Linked DNA regions of Homo sapiens: regions 1, 3, 4, 5 and 6 are each linked to region 2. The links are contacts of gene promoters, found by promoter capture Hi-C in blood cells and fetal thymus (Javierre and others, 2016). All regions are on one chromosome and are shown on one strand. Each heading gives the region's core, a stretch centred on a gene start or on the middle of the fragment in contact. The rest is flanking DNA. Distances are from core to core; before and after follow the strand shown. Region 1 overlaps PATL1-DT (PATL1 divergent transcript). Region 2 holds the start of TNKS1BP1 (tankyrase 1 binding protein 1). Region 3 overlaps OSBP (oxysterol binding protein). Region 4 holds the start of TRV-TAC1-1 (tRNA-Val (anticodon TAC) 1-1). Region 5 overlaps STX3 (syntaxin 3). Region 6 overlaps MRPL16 (mitochondrial ribosomal protein L16).

The links. The method cuts DNA at HindIII sites, captures the fragments that hold promoters and counts their contacts. A CHiCAGO score of 5 or more calls a contact.
Region 1: a fragment that was not itself captured here is called in contact with the fragment with the promoter of TNKS1BP1 in region 2 in 1 of 17 cell types (total CD4 T cells); the score reaches 6.5 in total CD4 T cells.
Region 3: a contact is called between a fragment that was not itself captured here and the fragment with the promoter of TNKS1BP1 in region 2, in 1 of 17 cell types (naive CD8 T cells). The highest score is 6.6, in naive CD8 T cells.
Region 4: a fragment that was not itself captured here is called in contact with the fragment with the promoter of TNKS1BP1 in region 2 in 4 of 17 cell types (total CD8 T cells, activated CD4 T cells, non-activated CD4 T cells and 1 more); the score reaches 7.5 in total CD8 T cells.
Region 5: a contact is called between a fragment that was not itself captured here and the fragment with the promoter of TNKS1BP1 in region 2, in 1 of 17 cell types (naive CD8 T cells). The highest score is 5.3, in naive CD8 T cells.
Region 6: a fragment that was not itself captured here is called in contact with the fragment with the promoter of TNKS1BP1 in region 2 in 2 of 17 cell types (naive CD8 T cells and naive CD4 T cells); the score reaches 6.8 in naive CD8 T cells.

Annotation. Positions count from the first base shown.
Region 1 is chr11:59,673,944-59,678,192 of GRCh38, reverse strand. PATL1-DT (PATL1 divergent transcript) reads right to left here. Exons shown (of 4, transcript NR_187296.1): 3 at 3,220-3,266; 4 at 2,152-2,796. Among named protein-coding and RNA genes, the nearest start is that of PATL1-DT, 6.8 kb to the right of the region's middle. The HindIII fragment of the contact is 507 bases long and covers 2,329-2,835 here.
Region 2 is chr11:57,322,788-57,326,997 of GRCh38, reverse strand. It overlaps TNKS1BP1 (tankyrase 1 binding protein 1), which reads left to right and starts at 2,046. Exons shown (of 12, transcript NM_033396.3): 1 at 2,046-2,158. SSRP1 (structure specific recognition protein 1) reads left to right here. Exons shown (of 17, transcript NM_003146.3): 16 at 109-295; 17 at 520-1,010. The coding sequence ends at 591. RefSeq lists enhancers at 880-1,753, 1,783-1,832 and a silencer at 1,963-2,242. The HindIII fragment of the contact is 11,807 bases long and covers 1,479-4,210 here.
Region 3 is chr11:59,609,109-59,612,955 of GRCh38, reverse strand. OSBP (oxysterol binding protein) reads left to right here. Exons shown (of 14, transcript NM_002556.3): 2 at 2,367-2,575. Among named protein-coding and RNA genes, the nearest start is that of OSBP, 4.7 kb to the left of the region's middle. The HindIII fragment of the contact is 1,607 bases long and covers 1,090-2,696 here.
Region 4 is chr11:59,547,209-59,550,905 of GRCh38, reverse strand. It overlaps TRV-TAC1-1 (tRNA-Val (anticodon TAC) 1-1), which reads left to right and starts at 205; the gene lies at 205-277. The region is part of intron 3 of LOC102723575 (a long non-coding RNA gene); the gene reads right to left. RefSeq lists enhancers at 1-233, 389-608. The HindIII fragment of the contact is 947 bases long and covers 986-1,932 here.
Region 5 is chr11:59,759,850-59,763,719 of GRCh38, reverse strand. The region is part of intron 1 of STX3 (syntaxin 3); the gene reads right to left. Among named protein-coding and RNA genes, the nearest start is that of STX3, 6.4 kb to the right of the region's middle. The HindIII fragment of the contact is 2,301 bases long and covers 1,158-3,458 here.
Region 6 is chr11:59,806,289-59,810,056 of GRCh38, reverse strand. It overlaps MRPL16 (mitochondrial ribosomal protein L16), which reads left to right. Exons shown (of 4, transcript NM_017840.4): 2 at 137-202; 3 at 2,208-2,356; 4 at 3,225-3,768. The coding sequence ends at 3,710. Among named protein-coding and RNA genes, the nearest start is that of MRPL16, 2.6 kb to the left of the region's middle. The HindIII fragment of the contact is 1,415 bases long and covers 821-2,235 here.

The DNA.
Region 1 (4,249 bases), core at 1,333-3,832, 2.4 Mb before region 2:
CTCATTTTATTATACTTCACAGATAATTGTGTTTTTTACAAATCGAAAAATTTTGGCAACCTTACATTGAGCAGGTCTATCAGCACCATTTTCCCAACAGCATGTGTTCACTTCACGTCTCTGTCTCACATTTTGGTAATTCTCACAATATTTCAAACTTTTTATTACATCTATTATAGTGATATGTGTTCAGTCATCTTTAATGTTACTATTTTAATTGTTTTGGGGCACCAGGAACTGCACCCTTATAAGACGGTGAACTTACTAAGTGTTGTGTGTGTTCCACTGACTAGCTGTTCCCTCATCTTTCTCCCTCTCTTTGGGCCTCCCTATTCCCTGCGACACAACTATATTGAAATTAGGCCAATTAATAACCTCACAATCACCTTTAAGTGTTCAAGTGAAAGAAAGAGTCACACATCTCTCACTTTAAATCAAAAGCTAGAAATGATTAAGCTTAGTGAGGAAGGCATGTCAAAAGCAAGATGGGCCAAAAACTAGGCCTTTGGGCCAAGAAGCTAGCCAAGTTGTGAATGCAAAGGAAAAGCTCTTGAAAGGATTTAAAAATGCTACTCCAGTGAACATACAAATGGTAGGAAAGTAAAACAGCATTATTGCTGTTATGGAGAAACTTTCAGTGGTCTGGATAAAAGATCAAACTAGCCACAACATTCCCTTAAGCCAGATCCTAATCCAGACACCCTAACTCTCTCAATTCTATGAAGGTGGAGAGAGGTGAGGAAGCTGCAGAAGAAAAGTTTGGAGCTAGCAGAGCTTGGTTCATGAGGTTTAAGGAAAGAAGCCACCTCCATAACATAAAAGTACACAGTAAAGCAGCAAGTGCTTGATGTAGAAGCTCCAGCAAGTCATCCAGAAGATCTAGCTTCATCATTGATGAAGGTGGCTACATCAACAGATTTTCAATGCAGACAAAATGGCCTTATATTATTGGAAGAAGATACCATCTAGGACTTTCAATGCCTAGGTTCAAAGCTTCAAAGGGCAGGCTGACTCCCTTGTCAGGGGCTAGTGCAGCTGGTGACTTTAAGTTGAAGTCAATGCTTATTTGTCCTTCTAAAAAATCTTAGGTTCCTTAAGAATTATGCTAAATCTACCCGGCCTCTGCTCTGTAAATGAAACAATAAAGCCTGGATAGCAACAGCACATCCATTTACAGCGTGATTTACTGAATATTTAAAGCCCACTGCTGAAACCTACTACTCAAAAAAAAAAAAAAAAAAAAAAACTGGTTTATTTTAAAATACTACTGCTCATTGACAATGCAGCTGGTCACCCAAGAACTCTGATGGAGATGTACAAGATTAATCGTTTTCAGGCCTGCTAACACAACATCCATTCTGCAGCCCACACAGCAATTTCAACTTTCAAGTCTTATTATTTCAGAAATACATTTTGTAAGGCTATAGCTGTCATAGATAATGATTCCTTTGATGGATCTGGGCAAAAGAAATTGAAAACCTTCTGGATACTTCTGGATGACTAGATAAAGGAAAACAAAACAAAACAAAAAAACCTGGAAAGGATTTACCATCCTAAATGCCATTAAGAACATTTGTGAAGCCAGGTACAGGCAGCGTGGCGAAGCCCTGTCCCTACAAAAAATACAAAAATTAGCCGGGCATGATGGTGCCCGCCTATAGCCCCAGCTACTTGGGAGGCTGAGATGGGAGAATGGCTTGAGCCCAGGAGGTGGAGGTTGCAGTGAGTCGAGATCGTGCCACTGCACTTGTTTGCCCCCTGCCCGCAAAAAGAACATTTGTGAGTCATAGGAAGGGGTCAAAGTATCAACATTGTCATGGAAAAACTTAAACTGCATTTGTCCTCTGCTCTCACACCACAACAATCAACACAGAAGACTTCTGTGACCAAATATATGGGGGATTTTCCCCACCAACAAGCAGTGGAGACCAGCTGGGTATCCTCCAATTCGATTCTGACACTACCTGGAGATATGTCAGTTCCCACAGGTAAAGGGCTCAGTCCCCAAGATTACTCCCTCCTCCCCCCAGACACCAGTTGCAAGTCCAGGTCTCTGGAACTTCTGATCAATCAGCTTCAAGTTGAGGTTCCCATGACCCCCTCTTTGGGTTCAATAATTTGCTGGAGTGGCTCACAGAACTAAGGAAACACTTATATTTACCAGTTTATTATAAAGGATATCACGAAGGATCCAGATGAAGAGATGCACAGGGAGAGGTATGGAGGAAGGGACACGGAGCTCCCATGCCCTCCCCAGGTAGCCATTCCCCAGAAACCTCCACTTGTTCAGCTATCAGGAAGCTGTCCTCTTGGATTTTTATGGAAGCTTCATTATATCAGCATTCCTTCCCCCAGGCCATGGGTTGGGACCCTCTCTGAAATGAGTCTTATGATCCACAATTATAAAAGCAGAAGATTAGAGTCCTGCTTTGGGGTAGGTGAAAGGAAGGCAGGTAAAAGGAAGGCAAGAGAAGGTCAAAGAGATTCTGTTTCCTGTGTATGAAAACCTATATGTATATATATTTCATAACACTACAAACATTAACAGGACTTTGGAAGAAGTTGATTCCAACCCTCATGGATGACTTTGAGAGGTTCAAGACTTCGGTGGAGGAAGTCACTGCAGGTGCGGTGGAATACCAAGAGAACTAGAATTAGAAGTGGAGCCTGAAGATGTGACTGAATTCCTGCAATCTCATGATTAAACTTTTAACAGGTAAGGAGGTGCTTCTTATGCATGAGAAAAGAGTTTCCTTAAGATAGAATCTTCTCCCGGTGAAGATGCTGTGAACATTGCTGAAATGATAATAAAGGATTTAGAGTATTACACAAGCTTAGTTGATAAAGCAGTGTTTGAGAGAATTGCCTCCAATTTTGAAAGTTCTAATTCATGGGTAAAATGCCAAACAGCGCTGCATGCTACAGAGAAACTTTTCCGTCATGAAAGGAAAAGTCAATCGAGGTGGCTTACTTCCTTGTCTTATTTTAAGAAATTACCATAGCCACCCCAACCTTCAGCAACCACTGCCTTTATCAGTAAGCAGCTATCAACATCGAGGCAAGACCCTCCATCAGGAAAAAGATTAAAATTCGCTAAAGGCTTAGATGATCATTAGCATTTTTAGCAATAAAGCATTTTTTAATTAAGGTATGTACATTGCGTTTTTAAAGACATAATGCTATTGCACAGTAGGCTATAATATAGATATCACTTCTCACCATTTTACATAATAGATTCTCGATAAATACGTATTGAGTTGAATCCCCTGCAAAAAAAAAAGTTTAATAGTTTGCCAAAGTATAACTTTCAAAAAGCTAAATAAAAATTATTCTCTTTCAATTACATTATGAGCATGTGTCAAAATATTTATTTATCTTATTAATGAAAAGAAACAGCAAGGTGGTGAAGCTGATTCAAAGGAGGACACAAGAAACTATGAACTATATAGTGGGGGAAATGGCTGAATTAAGACTCAAAAGTTAAATATATTATTGGTTAATGTCCTGTGTGGCAATAAAACTGTCTCCTTTGAGATGATCTTTCCCACCAAAATGAAATTATCTCCACTGGACAAAAATAATTTGCAACTTGTTAATCTTCTATAAACTAATATCTAACTTTACTGAGTCTGGGATCTCATTAATTAATAATAAACACTAAGTCAAACAAGGTTACCTCTCTGTAGAACTTTAAATGACCTTTAGGCAGGCTTGTTAGATAATGTTCTTATTACAACATTGCAAGGCACACAACAATCCTTTTTCCTTATTTCCAAGTTTTGTATAATTTTTCTAAACGGACACATTCCCACTATCTATTAGTGAGCAATAAACTACTCTAAAACTTTGTGGTTGAAATGTACATATATATATATAGCCACATGTGGTGGCACGTGCCTGAAGGCTTGGCTACTGGGGAGGCTGAGGTGGGGGAATGGTTTAAGCCCAGGAGTTTGAGGTAGCAGTGGGCTATGATTGCACCATTGCACTGCAGCCCTCTCAAAAAACAACAAACAAACAAAACAAACAATACAATTTGTGGCTTAAAACTACAACCATTTTATTTTATATATATATATATAATATATATAATAAAGTATTTTATATTTTATATATATATATAAAATACTTCTATGGGCCAGGAATTTTGGAGCAGCTTTGCTGAGTGATTCTTCCGCTCTTTATGGCATGGAATGGAGTCACAGTGTTTGGCTGGTAGCTGAACAGGTGTGAAGAGTCCAAGACAGCT
Region 2 (4,210 bases), core at 797-3,296:
TGGGCTGTGTGGCTGGGATTGGGAAAGGCCTTGTTAAAGCTGGGAGAGGTTTGGTCATGGTGACAGGGGACCTGAAGGCCCAGCTCCTCTTCCCTCTTGCCAATACAGGGACAAGTCAAAGAAGAAGAAGAAAGTAAAGGTAAAGATGGAAAAGAAATCCACGCCCTCTAGGGGCTCATCATCCAAGTCGTCCTCAAGGCAGCTAAGCGAGAGCTTCAAGAGCAAAGAGTTTGTGTCTAGTGATGAGAGCTCTTCGGGAGAGAACAAGAGCAAAAAGAAGAGGAGGAGGAGCGAGGTGCGGCAGGAATGTGGGGCCTGTGGGCTGGGCAGGGTGAGGGGCATGTGTGTCTGTGTGGGGTTGGTCTGTAAGAGTAATGAGTTGGAGTGGATGGTGGAATTCTGAGGTTCTGAAGGGGGGTGCTGTAGTTGGGGGCGGTAGGGAATTGCGGGCCCTTCACTGAAGAGTGGGTGGGGCACCCAGGACTCCAGCTTTTCCCTTAAGACACCTTTGGTTTTCAGGACTCTGAAGAAGAAGAACTAGCCAGTACTCCCCCCAGCTCAGAGGACTCAGCGTCAGGATCCGATGAGTAGAAACGGAGGAAGGTTCTCTTTGCGCTTGCCTTCTCACACCCCCCGACTCCCCACCCATATTTTGGTACCAGTTTCTCCTCATGAAATGCAGTCCCTGGATTCTGTGCCATCTGAACATGCTCTCCTGTTGGTGTGTATGTCACTAGGGCAGTGGGGAGACGTCTTAACTCTGCTGCTTCCCAAGGATGGCTGTTTATAATTTGGGGAGAGATAGGGTGGGAGGCAGGGCAATGCAGGATCCAAATCCTCATCTTACTTTCCCGACCTTAAGGATGTAGCTGCTGCTTGTCCTGTTCAAGTTGCTGGAGCAGGGGTCATGTGAGGCCAGGCCTGTAGCTCCTACCTGGGGCCTATTTCTACTTTCATTTTGTATTTCTGGTCTGTGAAAATGATTTAATAAAGGGAACTGACTTTGGAAACCATGTCCTCATGCTTTCTTTGTAGCCTTGGTGTGTTGCTCCCACTTTTATTGGTGGTGTTTACTGCTCTGGTCAGACTGGGCAGGGCCTTCCTGGCCAGCCGGGAAGCAAGTCTCGAGGTACATCCTGTTCTGTTCCCGGCTGGACGAGCATTGGTTTTCACCCGCCTCTGCCCGGATGGGCCACCTGAGAGTCTAGAAATGAGAGCTGATCTGATTAGGAAGTTTCTCCCAGTTACACTCCATTAGCCAACCAAGCTAGGGGGAGGCAGCTCTTGGCTGCATCCTTACCTATGAGTCAAGGGTCTTCCAAGGCTTTCGATAATGAAATCAGGATTGACTGTCCTTCCCGCAGCCGGGGGAGTGGAAACCTGAGCCTGGAGAGTCGGGGAGGATGAGCGTGTGCGTAGAGTGGTGGTGGTTGCAGCCTGGTGGTGGTGCAACAAAGTACGGAGTTATATGTGAAGCTTTTGTTCTTACGGGAAGAAGGGGGTATACAAACTTCAGTGTAGGGAGGAACCCATGTCTGAGAAGGGGCCTAAAAGGAGATAAAGGTCACTAATGAGGAATGCAGAGCTGCCAGACTTCTTCACGGTGGCTCTAAATCTGAATTGACACAGGAGGGTGGCCACGTTGCGCGCGTTCTCAGCACTCAGGTGGTTGTATCAGGAAGCCGCTTCAGTCAGCCGGCGGCTACCTTCTTGCCGGCGTAGCTCGATGATACTGTGCTCTGTGCAGGCGGCGGAGCCCGGGAGGGGCCGCCAAGGCAGTTTCTCTAGGCAGTCGTCTCGGTGGCCATTTTACCCGAGCGCTCCCGGCTGAATTGCGTCAGTTTCGCCCCGGTCTGAGACTGGGGCGGGCCCCTCATCTGCAAGCCTCATGAATAATTGAGTGCTGGGCCGCGCCTGTTTGCCGACGGTGGGACGAATTCTGCACGGGCTTCCCACTCCCGGGTTCCAACCGGCTCATGCATATTCATGAAGCGCCCTGGGGGCGTGGACCTGGGCGGAGTTGGGGCGGGGCCCCGCCGGGGCTCGCAGTGGCTTCGTCCCGCGGTGACGGCGGCGGCGGCGGCGGTAGCAGCGGCGGCGGCGGCGGGGACTGGCATCGGGGCCCCGAGCCGAGCGGAGCCGGACCCCGGGCGAGCGCGTGAGTGCGCGGGGGCGGTCGGGCGAAGGAGGGGGCGGGGTCCGGGATGGGGCGGGGGAGGGGCATGGAAGGAGTGGGTGCTTTCCAGCCGACACCTCGGGTTGAGGTGGTGGTGGTCGGGGGGTCACCAGGAAAGTTTGCAGGGGCCGAGGGCGCTGGGGACGCTGGAGGCCCGGGGGAAGGTGGCGCGTGTGCGCGGAGGCGGAGGGCGCATGGCTTGGAGCTCGTGCTGGCAGAGCCAGAAGAAAGGGGGGAGGGGGCGAGGGCTTGGGGCGGGGCCGGGGGCGGGCAGAGCCGCTGGAGGGACCCCTGCCTCCCCTTCCTCCGGGCCGCGCTAGCCCCCTCCCCCGGCTCCTTCGGCACGCCCCCAGCCACCCCAGTCCGCCCCCACCTGATCGACGTCTGCAGCCCACCGTCTGTTCGCCGGCTGCTTCACAGCCCGCTCACAGGTCCTCCGCTTCTGCCGCCACCGCAGCCCCCTCCTCCTCCTCCTCTTCGGCTGCCGCCGTCCCTTCTGTGTCCAGAGCTCCCCACTGGGCCCCTCCAGACAGCCCATTGCCCGGGGCTGTTCCATCTTCCCGTTGGCCCTCCCTCTTTCCAGCAGTTTACGTGCTGTCCCTGCCGACCTCTCTAGCCTCGGATCCGGCTGGAGATCCTGGGGTCCATAGGGGCGACCCCGCCTGCGCCGAGTCCCCTCCGGGGCTGGAGCTGCCCAGCCCTTCTGGAGGCCTTATCTGCCAGGGGTCAGCTCGTTTCTACCCTGCTACCCTCTACCCCCTGGTCTCTTGAGGGTGGGGAGTGCTCAGAACCGCTGCGAATCGCAGCTTCTGGCCACAGCCTTGGTGGCCTTGGTCACCTGGGGCCCCTGGCTGGGGTCTCTGAGTTGCTGTGGCCACCTCCGCACCTGGGGACTCTGAGCCCGCCTTCATTGCTGCAGCCCCTCATACCGCAGAGGGGCCCATCAGAACCCCAGGTGAAAGGATTTTTTTGGTTCTGAGCCAATTAATTTCCATCTCCAACCACCCACACTATGTTCCTAGTAATAATGTTCAAGGACAAGGAAACAATCTTGTGTTTTAATTTTATTTTTTCTATCATGTGCCCCTCCCCCCACCACACTTGGCCTGGCTCTGCACAGTTATTCACCCACCCACAGTGGGCAGTCTTCCGTGGTGGTTAACTGACCAATGGGTTGACAGTACTGGGTTTCTCTACTGTCTTCATACCCTCTCCCATCTTTGAAACACCTGGGGCAGGGTCAGCGTTAGGGGAGGGGTGTTGGATTTTGCAGAGGATGAGCACTGGGGGTCCCTTTTAAGGATTTGGTGCTGTCTTCCCAGACCAGCTGGAGTGGGTGACTTTAAGTGAGGCAATGCCCCTTGCAGGTTGGAGAAGTTTGGGTTGTCCTCAGGGCTCTGCATACCAGGTGAGGGAAACTTCCGCCTTGCATGAGAGGTGCAGGGCCCTATCCCCCAGGGTCTCCATGTTTTTGTGGGTGGGAGAGTGCTTCAGGAGTCAGGATGGGAACTGAGGAGGTGGTTGGAGTATCTGAAGAACAGGTGACAGGACTAGGGCCTGGGAGAGTGAAGGAATGGTCTGGGAATGCTGGTAGCCTGGGGTCAGGGAAGAGGAGGAGGTGGTTATCAGGGATGTTAGCTCATTGGTGACACTGAATGGAATCACAGTAATAATAGGCAACATTTGTTGAACACTTATTATGTGCTAGGCATTGTGCTAAGCCTATTTCATGTACTATTTCATGTAAGCCCCCTCAGGGTCTCAATAATCCCATTTTTCAGTTGGAGAAACTGAGGCTTGGAGAAGTCACAGGGCTAGAAAGTGGTAGACCCACCCAGCACTGAATCTTGGTATATCAGATCCTGAAGCTCATGTGACAGGCTTCTACCACCAGGCTGTGCCTCTTGGTTTAATTTCTTCTGTCCCCCTCAGAACTCCTTAAAGCCAACCCTAGGCTGGTGAGTGAAGCCCACATAACCCCTTTTCATACATAGGCTGTGGCTGCTCCACCCTGACTGTCGTGGAAGGTGGAGC
Region 3 (3,847 bases), core at 644-3,143, 2.3 Mb before region 2:
GGATGAGCTGTCCTAATAGGCCTTGGCAAACCACTTCCTTTACCTATCCTGGGCTTCCTTACGTACCCAGTTACTTAGATGTCCCATTACTTAAAACCTTATATGGAATCCCAACTCTCCCAGAAACATTGTGACAGGCCATAGTATTAGTTCTCCTGGCTAGCTTCTAGAGATTGAATTACTATTTCAGCTAGCCTTTTCAGGGAAGAACTTTCTGGCCAGAAAATACCACCTAATATTGTAGTGCCTGAAGAACCTATCTTGTACCCTGAGATTCATGTCTTTCCAGCTTCTGCACTAATCATTTATAATCATAAGTGTATCTGCCCAGACTCAAGAGCTCCGAGATCAAGTCTGCCTTACTCCCAGAGTTCCTTGGTATTTTTTAAACTGCTACAGACTTTTTGTAATTTGAGAAACTTCTTTAGTTTACAATGATGACCCAGGCAGAAGAGATTCCTACAATGATGACCCAGGCAGAAGAGATTCCTAAGAAGTGGTTTCCAAAAAGCTCCAATAAGGAGGAATGTGGAGGAAGGTCCAAGTAGTATACTTGGAGTAGAAAACATGAGCGAGCTGGCCTGTCAGCTGTGCATCTGTAATTCAGCCTGCATTATTCATAATGTAACTGAAGCTTGGGGGTGGGGAGGTAAGAATAGAAAAAACGGATTCATGTTACAGTGTGGCAGGTGCAGGAGATGGAAAATGGCCCAGTTCATTGAGACCCTTCTGGCCTTCCCATACTATTTGAGGAAGGAAGAGCAGTTCATGTGAAAAATTGAACAACAAACCTGTCTTCCAGACTTTCTCAAACATACCAAATCTTATGGGGTGTGTGCCATTTCTGGCATGCAGGAATTCTGGATATGCCAGGTGTGTTTGGCTGCTTGACTCCACTGAAAGGGAAATGGCTCTGCTTTGTACTGTGGCAGTTGGCAAAGGACTTTGACCTCTGTGTTCCAATTTGGACAGGGAAAAGTGCAGTCTCAACATGCAGGTTCCTGGGCATAACCAGCGGGTGGTAGGGAAATGACACAGTTTGTGTTAGACACTCGATTGTGCTAGAAGCTTGATATTTTATGTGAAGCTTGGTATTCTATGTGAAGTGTCTTATAGCTTGTTGTCACCAAGTAATGCTGTAAAGTTCAAAAGTTAGTCTATTAATAGAACTGTCAGTCACTAGAGATCGGGAAAATTTTTACACCCAGTTCTCTGAGAGCAGATCTGCTGAATCTTTCCTAGCTATTAATAGACGGCTTAGGAGTTCCCACCAGTAGAGTATGGTGGACCTTAGGAATGAACATATTCCAGAAAGATTAAAACACTTGGTGATTCCTTTTTACTTCCCCAGAAAGCTAGTTATTCTTATTTCATATCATTTGAACCATAGCCAATATTTAATACTCTAAACATTTAAGGGTGCTTTTTTTACACTTCTGCGATATAACTCTAAGCATGATGTAACATTGGGCTGAGTTCTCATTTGGGCTGAGTTACAGTCGGGAGCGAGATGGTTTGGTATATATAAAATAGAGCTATTCTTAGGAAATGAGATTGTTGCATGAGGTTATAGGGCAATTTATAATTACAACTTGCTAAGTAAAAGATAATTCCTGACTGCAAAAGGGCATGAAGGAACTTACTGAGATGATAGAAATGTTCTACATCTTGATTGTGGTGGTGGTTATGCACTTGTGTACATTTGTCAAAACTCATTCAGTTGTACCTTTAAAATTGCTAAATTAACATTGCATGTAGTTATACCTCAGTATAGCCTATTTCTTTCTTTCTTTCTTTCTTTCTTTTTTTTTTTTTTTTTTGAGACGGAGTTTCGCTCTTGTTGCCCAAGCTGGAGTGCAATAGTGGGATCTCAGCTCACTGCAAACTCCGCCTCTCAAGTTCAAGCGATTCTCCTGCCTCAGCCTCCTGAGTAGCTGGAATTACAGGCACACACCCGCACGCCTGGCTAATTTTTTTGATTTTTAGTAGAAACAGGGTTTCACCATGTTAGCCAGGCCGGTCTGGAACTCCTGACCTCAGGTGATCTGCCCACCTTGGCCTCCCAAAGTGCTGGGATTACGGGTGCCCGGCCTGTAAAGCCTATTTCTAAAAGGAAAATGGTAAGAGGGACAGCAAAGCAAAAAAAAAAAAAAAAAATCTGACTCAGAAACAACACTTATAGGCTCTGAAGGGAAATCCCCACTAATTGTTTCGTGAATTTTAGGGACCCGTTTGAGGGACTAGAACTTGCTGATTCCTAAGACTGTCATATTTTCAGGGAGCTCAGAGTTATGAAAAGAAATGGAATGTGATAAAGGATAAACCGTCAACTTTCTGTTTAAATTGTCTTTGTCTTGTTATTACAGATCAAAGGCAGAAATGAGACATACCTGCCGTGGTACCATCAACCTCGCCACAGCCAACATCACCGTGGAGGACTCCTGCAACTTCATCATTTCCAATGGGGGTGCTCAGACCTACCATCTGAAAGCTAGTTCAGAAGTTGAGCGGCAGCGCTGGGTGACGGCCCTGGAACTGGCCAAGGCCAAAGCTGTGAAGATGCTGGCAGAGTCAGGTCAGGAACAAAGAACACCTGCCTGGGGAACTTTCTTTTTGCCCCTTTTATGCACAGATTTTGTTTGTCATCATTATGCTGTGTCATTTGATTATCACCTATTTCCTAGAGGTCTCAAGCTTCTCGTCTTCATGCAGTATTTCTGCTGGAGTGATGGTTCTCAACCAGGGTTGATTCTCCTCCCCAGGGGACATTTGGCAATGTCTGGAGACATTTTTGGTTGTCACAGCTGAAGGGAGGGAGGTGCTATGGCATCTAGAGAGTAGAGGCCTGGGATGCTGCTGAACCTCCTATAATATACCAAACAGCCGCCAAAACAAAGAATTATCTGGCCAAGGTTGAAAAATTCTGTCCTAGAGGCGTAACAGTTGTTCTTTTGCCTTTTAATTGGCTACCTTAAAATTTTGAGAAATAATTATTTTATTGGTGGGCCAGTCTTGGGAATATTATTCCTCAGAATTTGGATCTATTCGTGCTTTTTCTCCTGATACCTTCTTACTTAACTCTTTGTTAGTTAAGTTGAAACAATTTTAGTAGACTGCCAAAAACTGTATATGTGATATTTTCTATGAAAAATCTTCATTTTGCTGCATTGGTTAACTAAAAGGAGCAATCAAGTTAAGTTTTGATTATTCTTCAAGGAAAATGGTACGATTTTCTCCTGATATATTGATAGTTTAATCATACTGAGCTTGTTTACCTAGAACTGACCAAGATGGTCATCTGCTGACTTTGTTATCTTATCCCCTGTCATTTCCCATACTGTATGTTCATTCATCAGTGAAAGGAGAATTCACTGGTTTGTAAATTGTTTGGTAGTAAGTTATATTTTGACTTTGGCCCCGTCTCTCTGTCTAGCAGAAAGGACAGGTCTTTTGTCTTTTTTTTTTTTTTTCTTGCTTTTAGTGCCGATGTTAGCTCCTCCAAAGGAAGTGACACTGCTAGAAAAGCACTTTGCAGTTACAAAGTGTTGAGTGTGAGAGGTACAACATAGCTTCTGTACTTGACTTATTATTGGAGAGCTATTTAAAGTGAGTTTTTGCATTCTTTTCATGGTGGCTTTAGTCATAAAGTTTCTGAGCTCTCTTTCAGAAGACAAATTAATGGCCTTTTTTGTAATGTGGACTTTGTCTACAAAGAGCTAGACTGTGATTCTCAACTCATTTAATACAGGTCCCATCAGTCACCTATCAGATGATAGTGGAGTTGCAAAAATAGTTAGCTTGGACTAGATAGGAATCATCAAGCTAGAGTTAAGGAGCTCAGTAATTA
Region 4 (3,697 bases), core at 210-2,709, 2.2 Mb before region 2:
TTGGTTCAGGAAGCTGGAGACGCAGACATTTTGACAATGTTTCTGTGCGGTCGTGCTCCTCTGAATACTGGAAAATGAGGAATCCTTTTGAAAGTTTTTCTCTGTGCACAATCGCCGGATGTCAAGTCTACATGACCATTTCCCAGTGCCAAAATGTCTTTTTGAACAATTATCAAATCCTGGAGGAACGTTTTAGTCGTGTGGGGTTCCATAGTGTAGTGGTTATCACGTCTGCTTTACACGCAGAAGGTCCTGGGTTCGAGCCCCAGTGGAACCATGAGATGTTACCTAGCGTTTTGTGAGCCAGGTGTTGGGTTTTGCACCAGGAAGCTGGCGACGAACCCGTGTCTCAAGAATTTCTACGGCTTGTTTCCCGCCTGCTGCATCAGCCCGGTTTCTCTTAGCGCTCGGCGCTGAGTCGGCCTCCGCGGCGGCCCCCGTATGGCGCCTCTCTGGAGGTGCAGGCGGCTCCGCTCCACCGAGGCTTCGCTCGCCCCTGCGCCTGCGCCTTTCCACTACCTGGCCAGCCGGCTTCTGGGTTCCTGGGTGTTGCCCCTTGGCTCACCTACCTTCTCCTAAGCCTTGCTTGGGCCATCTCTAAAAATTGCCACCACTAAGTCGAAGGACATCACGAAGGCCGCCCTCATACTTTATTTATTTAAATTAAAAATGCTTTTTGAGGCCAGGCGCGGTGGATCATGCCTGTAATCCCAGCACTTTGGGAGGCTGAGGCGGGCGGATCACGAGGTCAGGAGATCGTGTCCATCCTGGCTAACACGGTGAAACCCCGTTTCTACTAAAAATACCAAAAAAATTAGCCAGGCGTGGTGGCGGGTGCCTGTAGTCCCAGCTACTCTACTCGGGAGGTTGAGGCAGGAGAATGGCGTGAACCCGGCAGGCGGAGCTTGCAGTGAGCCGAGATCGCGCCACTGCACTCCAGCCTGGGAGAGAGCCGTCTCAAAAAAAAAAAAAAAAAAAAAAAGCTTTTTGAAAAATTAATTTCATGCACAGAATTCAGAATCCCTCCACGTATTTCACAACTGATGTTTCCATCCCATCTTTCAATGGTTAGCTGTTTCTTTTGTGACCCTTCAGAAATTGTCTATGCATTCACCAGTATACACGTACATTTACTTTAAAACCCACTTCACGCTTTTTGTACGAAGGTAGCACACATAGGTACCGCTCCCATTTCCTCAACAATATTCTGAAAATCTTCCTATTTCGTTCATACATCTTCGCTTATCCTTTTACTTCCTGTGTTTGGATATATCACAATTCTTTATGCCTTTTGATGAACACTTAAATTGTATCTAGTCTTAGGAACAATGCTGAGCAGATTTCCTTGTTCCTTGGTTTCAGGCAGGGCAATATGTAAAATAATCCTAGCAAAACCTTGAACAGGCACTTACATGGGTAGCTAACTTAATGTTCACAATGTCTCTATTATTATTTATCCCGTTTTACAGACGAGGGAGAGGAAGCATAATGAGATTAAGAAATGGCCCAGGGTTACACCCCTGGTCAGGGACAGAACACAGTACCAACCCAAGCAAGAAGAGTGTTGCCTTTATGTCTCAGAAGAAATTTAATTGATGGCTGGGCGCACTGGCTCACACCTGTAATCCCAGCACTTTGGGAGGCCGAGGTGGAAGCATGGCTTGAACCCAGGAGTTTGAAACCAGCTTGGGCAAAAAAGTGAGACGCCCTCTGCAAACCCGTCCCACCAACCTCCCTGCTCGTCCCCACCAACCCTGCCACAGCTCCTTTCAAAACAGCTTGTATCAAATTACACTCACACCAATATGAAAGCCCTTGTTCTTCCTGTCTCTCTCAAATGAAAATAACTGAATTTTGAGTCAGCTGGAAATGGTTTATTTTGTGTTTTTTTATTGTGAGTTAGGTTGAACGTTTTTCATGTACTTAAAAGCTTCCTTTCTTCCTACTATCTGTTCACCTCTTTTGTTCAATTTTCTTATGTATATATTCTGTTAATTTATGTTTAAATTGGTTTTTAGGCCGGGCGCAGTGGCTCACGCCTGTAATCTGAGCACTTTGGGAGGCCGAGGAGGGCGGATCATGAGGTCAAGAGATCGAGACCATCCTGGCCAACATGGTGAAACCCTGTCTTTACTAAAAATACAAAAATTAGCTGGGTGTGGTGGCATGCACCTGTAATCCCAGCTACTCAGGAGGCTGAGGCAGGAGAATCGCTTGAACCTGGGAGGCGGAGGTTGCGGTGAGCCGAGATCGTGCCACTGTACTCTAGCCTGGTGACAGAGCGAGACTCCGTCTCTAAATAAATAAATAAATAAATAGGTTTTTAGGTGCTCTTTGTAAATTCAGATTTAGGATATATTTTGCAAATGTATCCAGAGTTGCCATTTGTCTTTTGATTATATTTTTGATATTCCGTGCGATGTAGAAATTAAACATTTTTTTGAAGTCAATTTCATCATCTTTTTGGGGGGGGTGCAGGAGAGGGGCTTTTAACATTTCCTGCCTAGAAAATACTTACTCACTTTGAGATTATATTTCAAAAATTATTCTATATTTTCTCCTGATTGTTGTATAGTTAAACATTTTCTAATGTTTCAACCTTCTGTCAGAGGCCTTGGAACCAGAGCAACTGCATCTTGAATAGGGGCTGGGTAAAATAGGGCTGAGACCTACTGGGCTGCATTCCCAGGAGATTAAGGCATTCTAAGTCACAGGATGAGATAGGAGGTCGGCACAAGATACAGGTCATAAAGACCTTTCTGATAAAACAGGCTGTGGTAAAGAAGCTGGCCAAAACCCACAAAACCAGGATGGCAAAGAGAGTGACCTCTGGTGCCCTCACTGCTCATTATATGCTAATTATACTGCATTAACATGTTAAAAGACACTCCCACCAGCACCATGACAGTTTACAGATGCCATGACAATGTCAGGAAGTTACCCTATATGGTCTAAAAAGATGAGGAACTCTCAGTTCTGGGAATTGTCCCCCACTTTCCCAGAAAACTCATGAATAATCCACCCCTTGTTTAGCATATAATCAGGAAATGACCATAAAGGTGGACAGCCAGCAGCCCTAGTGGGCTGCTCTGCCTAAGGAGTAGTGATTCTTTATTCCTTTGCTTTTTTTTCTTTTTCTTTTTCTTTTTCTTTTTTTTGGTGATGGAGTCTTGCTTTGTCGCCCAGGCTGGAGTGCAGTGGTGCAATCTCGACTCACTGTAACCTCCACCTCCTGAGTTCAAGTGATTCTCCTGCCTCAGCCTCCTCAGTAGCTGAGACTACAGGCACGAGCCACCACGCCGGGCTAATTTTTGTATTTTTAGTAGAGATGGGGTTTCACCATGTTGGCCAGGCTGGTCTTGAACTCCTTGACCTCAGGTGATTTACTCTCCTTGGCCTCCCAAAGTGCTGGGATTACAGGCATGAGCTACCGCGCCTGTCCTATTCCTTTACTTTCTTAATACACTTGCTTTCACTTTACTTTATGGACTTGCCCTGAATTCTTTCTTGTGCAAGATCCATGAACCCTCTCTTGGGGTCTGGATTGGGACCCCTTTCCGGTACCACTTTGATCCATATGAAATTTCTATAACTGGCATGAGATAGGAAAGATGGACTTCTTTAAAGGGATTTTATATAGCACTCTGGATAATCTAGGTGTGTATGCATAAATCGGTCACCCTGGTAAAATCCCAAC
Region 5 (3,870 bases), core at 1,059-3,558, 2.4 Mb before region 2:
ATAGTTTGTCATTTCTACTTTGATTTATCTTTAGCCCAAGAGTTATTTAGAAAGGCGTTCTTACATTTCCAATATGGATTAGCCTGGGGAGGACAATTATTGTATTAATTTCTAATTGTATCACTGTTAGGAAACGGCCTATATGACTTTTATTCTGTGAGATTTGGCATTTTCTTTGTGTCTTAATACATGGTATTTCTTAATCTTCTATGCGTATTTCAAAAGAACTTGCATTCTGCTTGTCGGATACAAAAATCATTGAAGTCCAATCCTCACATGCCATCCTACCTGCTTTTGCTTCTCCAGACCTGAGGTGGGTCTAGACAAGAAAGACAAAAACTCCCAAGAAAGGAAGAAGAGGGGGAAAAGGCCCTCTAGGTAGATGTTATGTACACTAACAAGGAATCTGTGGCTAGGAAGGTTAATTCATCCAGAATCACACAGTAAGGAACACAGCCAAGATTAGAAACCTGGGTGGTCTAATCCAATGTTCACTCCTTCATTAACTCAGAGAGGCATCTCAAGGTCTCATCACCCATCAGCACAGCCACAATGTTCCATGCAAAGTAACAGATTCATTTGTTCATTCTTTCATCCGGCAGTATTTATTGCACATCTAACATCTGCCAAGCAACAGTCCATGCGATACAATACCACATGACACGTGAGGACAGTGCTTTAGCCCAAGGAATTACACACCCAAGAGAAGACGCAGTGCCCAACCTTGCCTGAATTCAAGGTTGAGCCTGGGGAAGATGGAAGCTTATTAGAGAATGTTGGCAGAAGTGACTCCTTGGAGAAATTTTGTGGAATGTGTGGATTTACCCAAATGAAACCTACAAGAAGGCCACTCAGGGTGAGGAGATCAGACCTTCTTCCTGCTTTCTTTCTCATCCCAGGAGCCATTCAAGGAGATTCAAAGAAGGCCTTCTTCTTCCTCCTGGAGATCTCAGGTGTCCTTTAGATCCTTCCTCCTCCACCCCACACTTCTTCCCTCTCTTCCACTCCCTTCCCCTGTCTCCTGTCCTGGCCTCTGGACACCACCATGGCATTCAGTTCTCAAGGACACAGAGAGGAGGAAGAAAGGAACTAATACTGTCTTACTCCATCCTCAGCCTTCTCCCCAACCCCTCCTTTCAGCCTCTGTCCCACAAGCTTCCTCTCCCTCATGGTCATTCTAGAATACTTAAATAACAGTGACAACGCGCAACCTTCATTAAACACTCAACATGTGCTGAGTGAGGATCCTTCTAAGATGTGTGCTTTCTATTGACCATGACAGTTAATCCCTAGGCCAGTCTTCTGGGGATATTCCCCATCTTACAGCTGAGAAAACTAATGCATAAAGACACCAAGCAACCTGACCAAGATCCTGCAGACAGTGGGCACCTGAGCTAGGAGGGGTGCCTGGGCAGCTGGCTGCCGGGACTTTGTCCTCAGCCATCTGGAGTGTTGCCTCTTAACGGCTGCTCCACCACCACCCTAGCTGTAGCATGTAGCACTGGCCACAGGAAATGTGCTTCCAGAGCACTAGAAAACAGATGCCGGAGCCCTGCCGCCAAGGTCACAAAAAACAAGAGACTAAGCAATTGTCAGACAGGCCAGAGGAAGCTAAGGAGATGTGACAACCGAATGCAATGTGGTGTCCTGGATCGCATCCTAGAACAGAAAGAGGACATTAGTGGAACAACTAGTGAAATCCAAATAAAGTATGGAGTTGGGTGAATAGTAATGTACCAATATAAGTCTCTTAGTTTTGCTAAGTGTACACTGTAGTATAAAATGAGACCAAGTGAGGGAACCAGGAGAGGACTAGACAGGAACTCTCTGTACTATCTTTGCAACTTTTCCATAAATCTAAAAGTAGGCTAAAACTTAAAAATTTATTAAAAAAAAAAAAACCCTGATGCCATACTGAGCTGTCCTAACCCAGACAGCTGAACATAACCAGACAGTATTTGCTCCACTAATCTCTTTAGGTGGGGGGTTGAACTTCACTCAGTTTCCAGATGGAGACTGGGGAAAGTTGCCATGGAAATGGTCCAATGCCAAAAAGCAGGCTACCCTGAGAGAGGAGATGGGGTGGGGGCAGTTGCAGAGGGGCCTAACATAAAGGTGGCTGGAGGTAAGGCCCCTCAGGGACTACAGAATCTGCGGGCAAATAAATTTACAGAATATCCCCATTCATTGACAGGACAGTTTGGTTTACAGCTTTACAGGCTTTGGGCTGGGAAGGTATAAGAGAGAATGAGACATATGTGGTCTGTGCTCTCCCAGAGCACAAGAACTAACAGAGCCAGTGGCATCTGAAATTGCAATACCATGTGGCTATTTGTATACACCACCAAAAGTAAAGTTTGCGGGGTCCGAGGAAAGGCATGCTCAGTGCTGTCAGCCTGGGAAGCTGGATGACACTGGAACTGAGACTTTGGAGATATGTAGGATTTTGCCAGGAGAAAAATGGAGTACCTAAGTTTTCACCATGGTAGCCACATCTTCGCCTTCATTGTCTTTCTAAATAGGGGCAACCTTCCATGTCATCTTGGGCTAGGTGTTTAGGTGTAGTTAGGAGCCTTGGAACTCCGTCCTTGGGGATGGACCTGTAAGGTCTGGCTTCATTAGCAAACATATGGATTCCCTCAGTAAATGTTCCACTTCAGGTAGGTAAAGATTCACCAGCCCACAGGGAATGGAGCAAGAAAAATAAGTCATAATAATGAGTAAAGGATGTGTAAGGGTCAAGCTGTTATTAATCAACTAAGAGACAAATGTTTAATACAGGCTTACCATGCAGAGTGCTAGGCCCTGGGGCTCCAGAGGACTATCATAACTGCTGTTGCATCAGAGGCATATAGTGCAGTTAGGGAGATGATCGAATACAGTGTAAGGGGATACGAAGAAGCAAGACACACACGTTCAATTCTTGAGCCCACCACTTCCCAGATGGGGATCTCAGTCAAACCTGAGACTCAATTCCTTCACTTGTAAAACGAGAATAATATCTCAATTCCTTGCTTGTAAATGAGAATAATATAAAAACCCACTTTGCTTTGCAGGGTTGAGAGAATTAGAGACAAGGTATGTAAGGTATGTAGCACAAGTCTGTCCAATAGTAGCTGCTCAATAAATGATTGTTGTTATTGTAATTGATGTGGTGACAAGAAGTACTAGAAACACTGACCTTAAAGACAAAAGGACCTAGAAGATAAAGGGGATAAAGGGTCTAACTTATAAAAAGCAACGGACAGTGGTTTCAAACCCACTCCATGGTAATTAAAAAAACAAAACAAACAAACAAAAAAAAAAAACCCACAACCTACTGCAAAGCAACATGCACCCCGTGAGAGCTGCAAGAATGGAGGAGAGTATTCTAAGTTGCAGTTACAGAACACTACTACCTATAAAAAATGAGTTTTGGAAGATGGGTAGAAATTTTGACAAAAGGCAGGGAGGAAGCTTTGGAAGAGAGAGAGGACAACATGAACAAGTGTCCCTCCCTTAGCTCCTGCCAATTCCCCCGACTTCCCCCACACTCACAGGAATAAAAATAAAATTAATCCTCTTCTCTCATCCAAGCATTTTCTGGCCTCCGGCTGATGGGGCTGTAATCCCTACTCAATCCCCATCACTCTCAGCTCTGGTTCCCGTCTGCTCACAGAAAAACAGCTCTTCCAGAGAATGAATCCTCCCAGGTACAGAGAAGAGGGGAGGCAGGAATCCTGACTTGAATGAAATTTTATGACTAGAGAAAGACAGAATCTCAGTGAAGCGCAGATTGGTATGTTAAGGTTCAGTTATGATCCAAAGCACCTGGCACATAAAAGCGGCTCGATAAATATTTATTAACAAATTAAGCTTTAAAGGAGAAGT
Region 6 (3,768 bases), core at 279-2,778, 2.5 Mb before region 2:
TGGATCCTGGGCGACAGAGTAAGACTCCGTCTCAAAAAAATAAAATAAATAAAAATAAGAAGTAGTACCTTTGGCCCAGGTTGTATCGGGGTCCCGGCCTGTTACCTTCGTCGTTTAACTTGATTTGTCTTTGTAGATTCCTGGGCACTCCTCCCCGCCAGTGCTGGCGTAAAGACACTGCTCCCAGTACCAAGTTTTGAAGGTGAGAGCTTGTCTTTCTCCTGTTCGTAAATCTTTTCTCTGATGGAAACCAGGAGCGGGTGGGAGATGACATAGGAATGTTCTCGTGTTTCCCATCCCCGTTCACTCTTTCAATAAATATGTTTTTAGAGCTTACAGTTTTGCCAACTAATATTCTGAGCACTAGAAATAAATCAAAGACAAAGGAAACCAAAAAAGTTCCTTGCTCTTACGGAGCAGCGTCTAATGAGATAGCTCCCCTAAAACCTCCCACTGGTGTGTGTCCCATGGTCCACTCAGCCAGTAGTCATTGGCCTGAAATCTGGATTTTTGAGCGGGCATGGTGGCTCACGCCTGTAATCACAGCACTTTAGGAGGCGGAGGCGGGTGGATCACTTGAGGCCAGGAGTTGGAGACCAGCCTGCCAACCTGGTGAAACCCCATCTCTACTAAAAATACAAAAAATTAGCTGGGCGTGGTAGTTTACACCTGTAATCCCAGCTACTCAGGAGGCCACTGCACTCCAGCCTGGGCAACAGAGTGAGACTCTGTCTCAAAAGAAAAAAAAAACCTGAACTTTTGATGTTCTTTCCAAATAAGTTTACATATATGCAGTCATCTAACGATATGTGAAAAAGCTTTAATTTGTTAAATTTAAGCCACAATATCGTAAAACTAGTTTACTTTTTAAAAAAGAAATATACTGGAACCCTCAAAAAAAATGAATAGGGTCTGTACATCTGAGGGTCTTCTGTACAGAATTGTTAAACCACGTTTTGAAAGTACATTTTGACTTGTAGGTGAAAGAAAGCATTACTAAGATTCTCTGTAGCTACATATAGAAGTTGAGGGGCAGCTTCTGAAACTCTGATAGTAATAATTTGGTATTTCCTCAAACTCTTCTATTTTGTATTTGTCTCCATTATAAAGCCATACTTGGTTCATTTAAGAAATTTTTAAAAATGATTTGTATGTTAACTTTTTTCCCCAAATCGTCAAGTAAGGATGATAAAGAAGATGTCACATGTCTGGCCTGAAGTTTTGCCCACCCACCAAAACCTGGCACACTGACCTGTGCAGGTCTCAGCATGAAAAGTCCCTGCATATATGAGAGAAAGAGCATTGATCAAAGGATTCCTAGGTTGTAAGTTTCTCAACAAGAATGTGGCAGAGCTGGAGAACTTAGATATTTTTATGTACAATATAGTATTCTTCCACTACCCCCATTAACATCCAGAGAGGCAGGGAAATATATGTATATATTTTTGTGACATGGTATGTAGCTTTGCTGTTGAACTGGATGGCATAGACCAGATTATAAAGTGTTTTTAGCCCTCGGGTTCCTCTTCTATAAAATGGAGATTAAAAATACTACCTGCCTAATATCCTGTTTGTTGATCTGGGTAATAGTGGTGTGTGTTCATGTGTTCACTTTCTGGTAATTCACTGAGCTGTATATTTTTAATTTGGCCCTTTGATATAGCTGTGTTAAACTTTGACAAGTTTAAAATTTTTAAAAAGAGAGCCCTGAAAGAATACCAAGGCTATAAAGTTATTTTAAAGATTAAGTGAACTAGTGGTTTCCAAACAATCCCTGTTACAGTGTTAAGCACAGAGTTGGTGATTAATAAGTGCATTTGGATTCAGAGGATAAAACTTTGCTATCTTTAAAGTTTTAGAAACATTTGCATTAGCCACTGTCACAGCCAGAAGATTCCAGTGTCACTAAAAGCATCTGCAAAAATGTAATATACCTTTACAGTTACTGTTCAGTGGTAACTTTAAGACTTTCAGGCTGGATATGGTGGCTCGCACTTGTAATCCCAACACTTTGGGAGGTAAAGGCAGGAAAATCACTTGAGGCCAGGAGTTTGAAACCAACCTGGGCAACATAGTGAGACCCTGTCTCTACCAAAAAATGAAGAAGAAAGAAATTAAGACTTTCACCTGTTATAAATCTTTCTAGGAAAATAGATCTTTTGAGATGTATAGTTTTACTTTATCCTGGTTGTCTGTGCTTCTTTTAGATGTTTCCATTCCTGAAAAACCCAAGCTTAGATTTATTGAAAGGGCACCACTTGTGCCAAAAGTAAGAAGAGAACCTAAAAATTTAAGTGACATACGGGGACCTTCCACTGAAGCTACGGAGTTTACAGAAGGCAATTTTGCAATCTTGGTGAGTGAATTCAGCATCGAGCAGCAATGGGATGGAAGCTAGGGAATAACAAAATCTCATACTCCTTGAGATAATTTAGTCTCTTCCTCCACAGTTTTTATTAGAACTGCCACCAGTTGCTCTTTAAACTGGTATGTACAGAGGCTACTGGGTACCCAGTAAACATTTGGGTTATATATCTTTTTTTTTTTTAATGTAGAGTGAAAATAACGTAAAAGCAGAAGGAAGGGGCTAGCTAATGTGCCCCATAATCAGATCATGAGATCTTTTCAAGCCCTGGTAAAAATAAAACCATCCACAATATAGGATGTGGAAGACAGCTGTTTCCTTACTTGTTGAGTAGCTTCCATGAAGACTTGATGTCAGCAGCCACACAAATGGGTGTGCACTAGGATTTGTTTTCCACCAGGCAGCCAGAGTGATATTCCAAAGTCCTCTTCCTGCAGCCTACATAATCACCCCCACTGACCTCTCAGAACCTCCTGCCCACTCTCCCCATTCCTCACCCTACTCCAGCCACATTGGCTTCTGTTCAACTTGCCAAGCCCTCTGCTGTGCCAGGGCCTCCACATAAGCCTTTCTTATGCCTGGCACACTCCTCTCTTTTCCCTTGGCTAGTTCTTTTTATTCTGGTCTTAGCTTTAGATGTCACCTCTTCAAAGAAGCCTTCCTGGCTCTCCACTGAAATGGGTCCCCCTTCACTCTATTACTGTGTACCCTAGGCTTTTCCTCCATGGGACTTATTAGAACTTAGATTTTTATTTTCAATTGTATCATTGAAGCCACAGTTACTAGAAGAGACAAAATAATGAGCCCATAGATGATGTCGAAGTCCGCATGTGTTTCTAATTCTCCCATTCACTTTTAGGCATTGGGTGGTGGCTACCTGCATTGGGGCCACTTTGAAATGATGCGCCTGACAATCAACCGCTCTATGGACCCCAAGAACATGTTTGCCATATGGCGAGTACCAGCCCCTTTCAAGCCCATCACTCGCAAAAGTGTTGGGCATCGCATGGGGGGAGGCAAAGGTGCTATTGACCACTACGTGACACCTGTGAAGGCTGGCCGCCTTGTTGTAGAGATGGGTGGGCGTTGTGAATTTGAAGAAGTGCAAGGTTTCCTTGACCAGGTTGCCCACAAGTTGCCCTTCGCAGCAAAGGCTGTGAGCCGCGGGACTCTAGAGAAGATGCGAAAAGATCAAGAGGAAAGAGAACGTAACAACCAGAACCCCTGGACATTTGAGCGAATAGCCACTGCCAACATGCTGGGCATACGGAAAGTACTGAGCCCATATGACTTGACCCACAAGGGGAAATACTGGGGCAAGTTCTACATGCCCAAACGTGTGTAGTGAGTGTAGGAGATAACTGTATATAGGCTACTGAAAGAAGGATTCTGCATTTCTATTC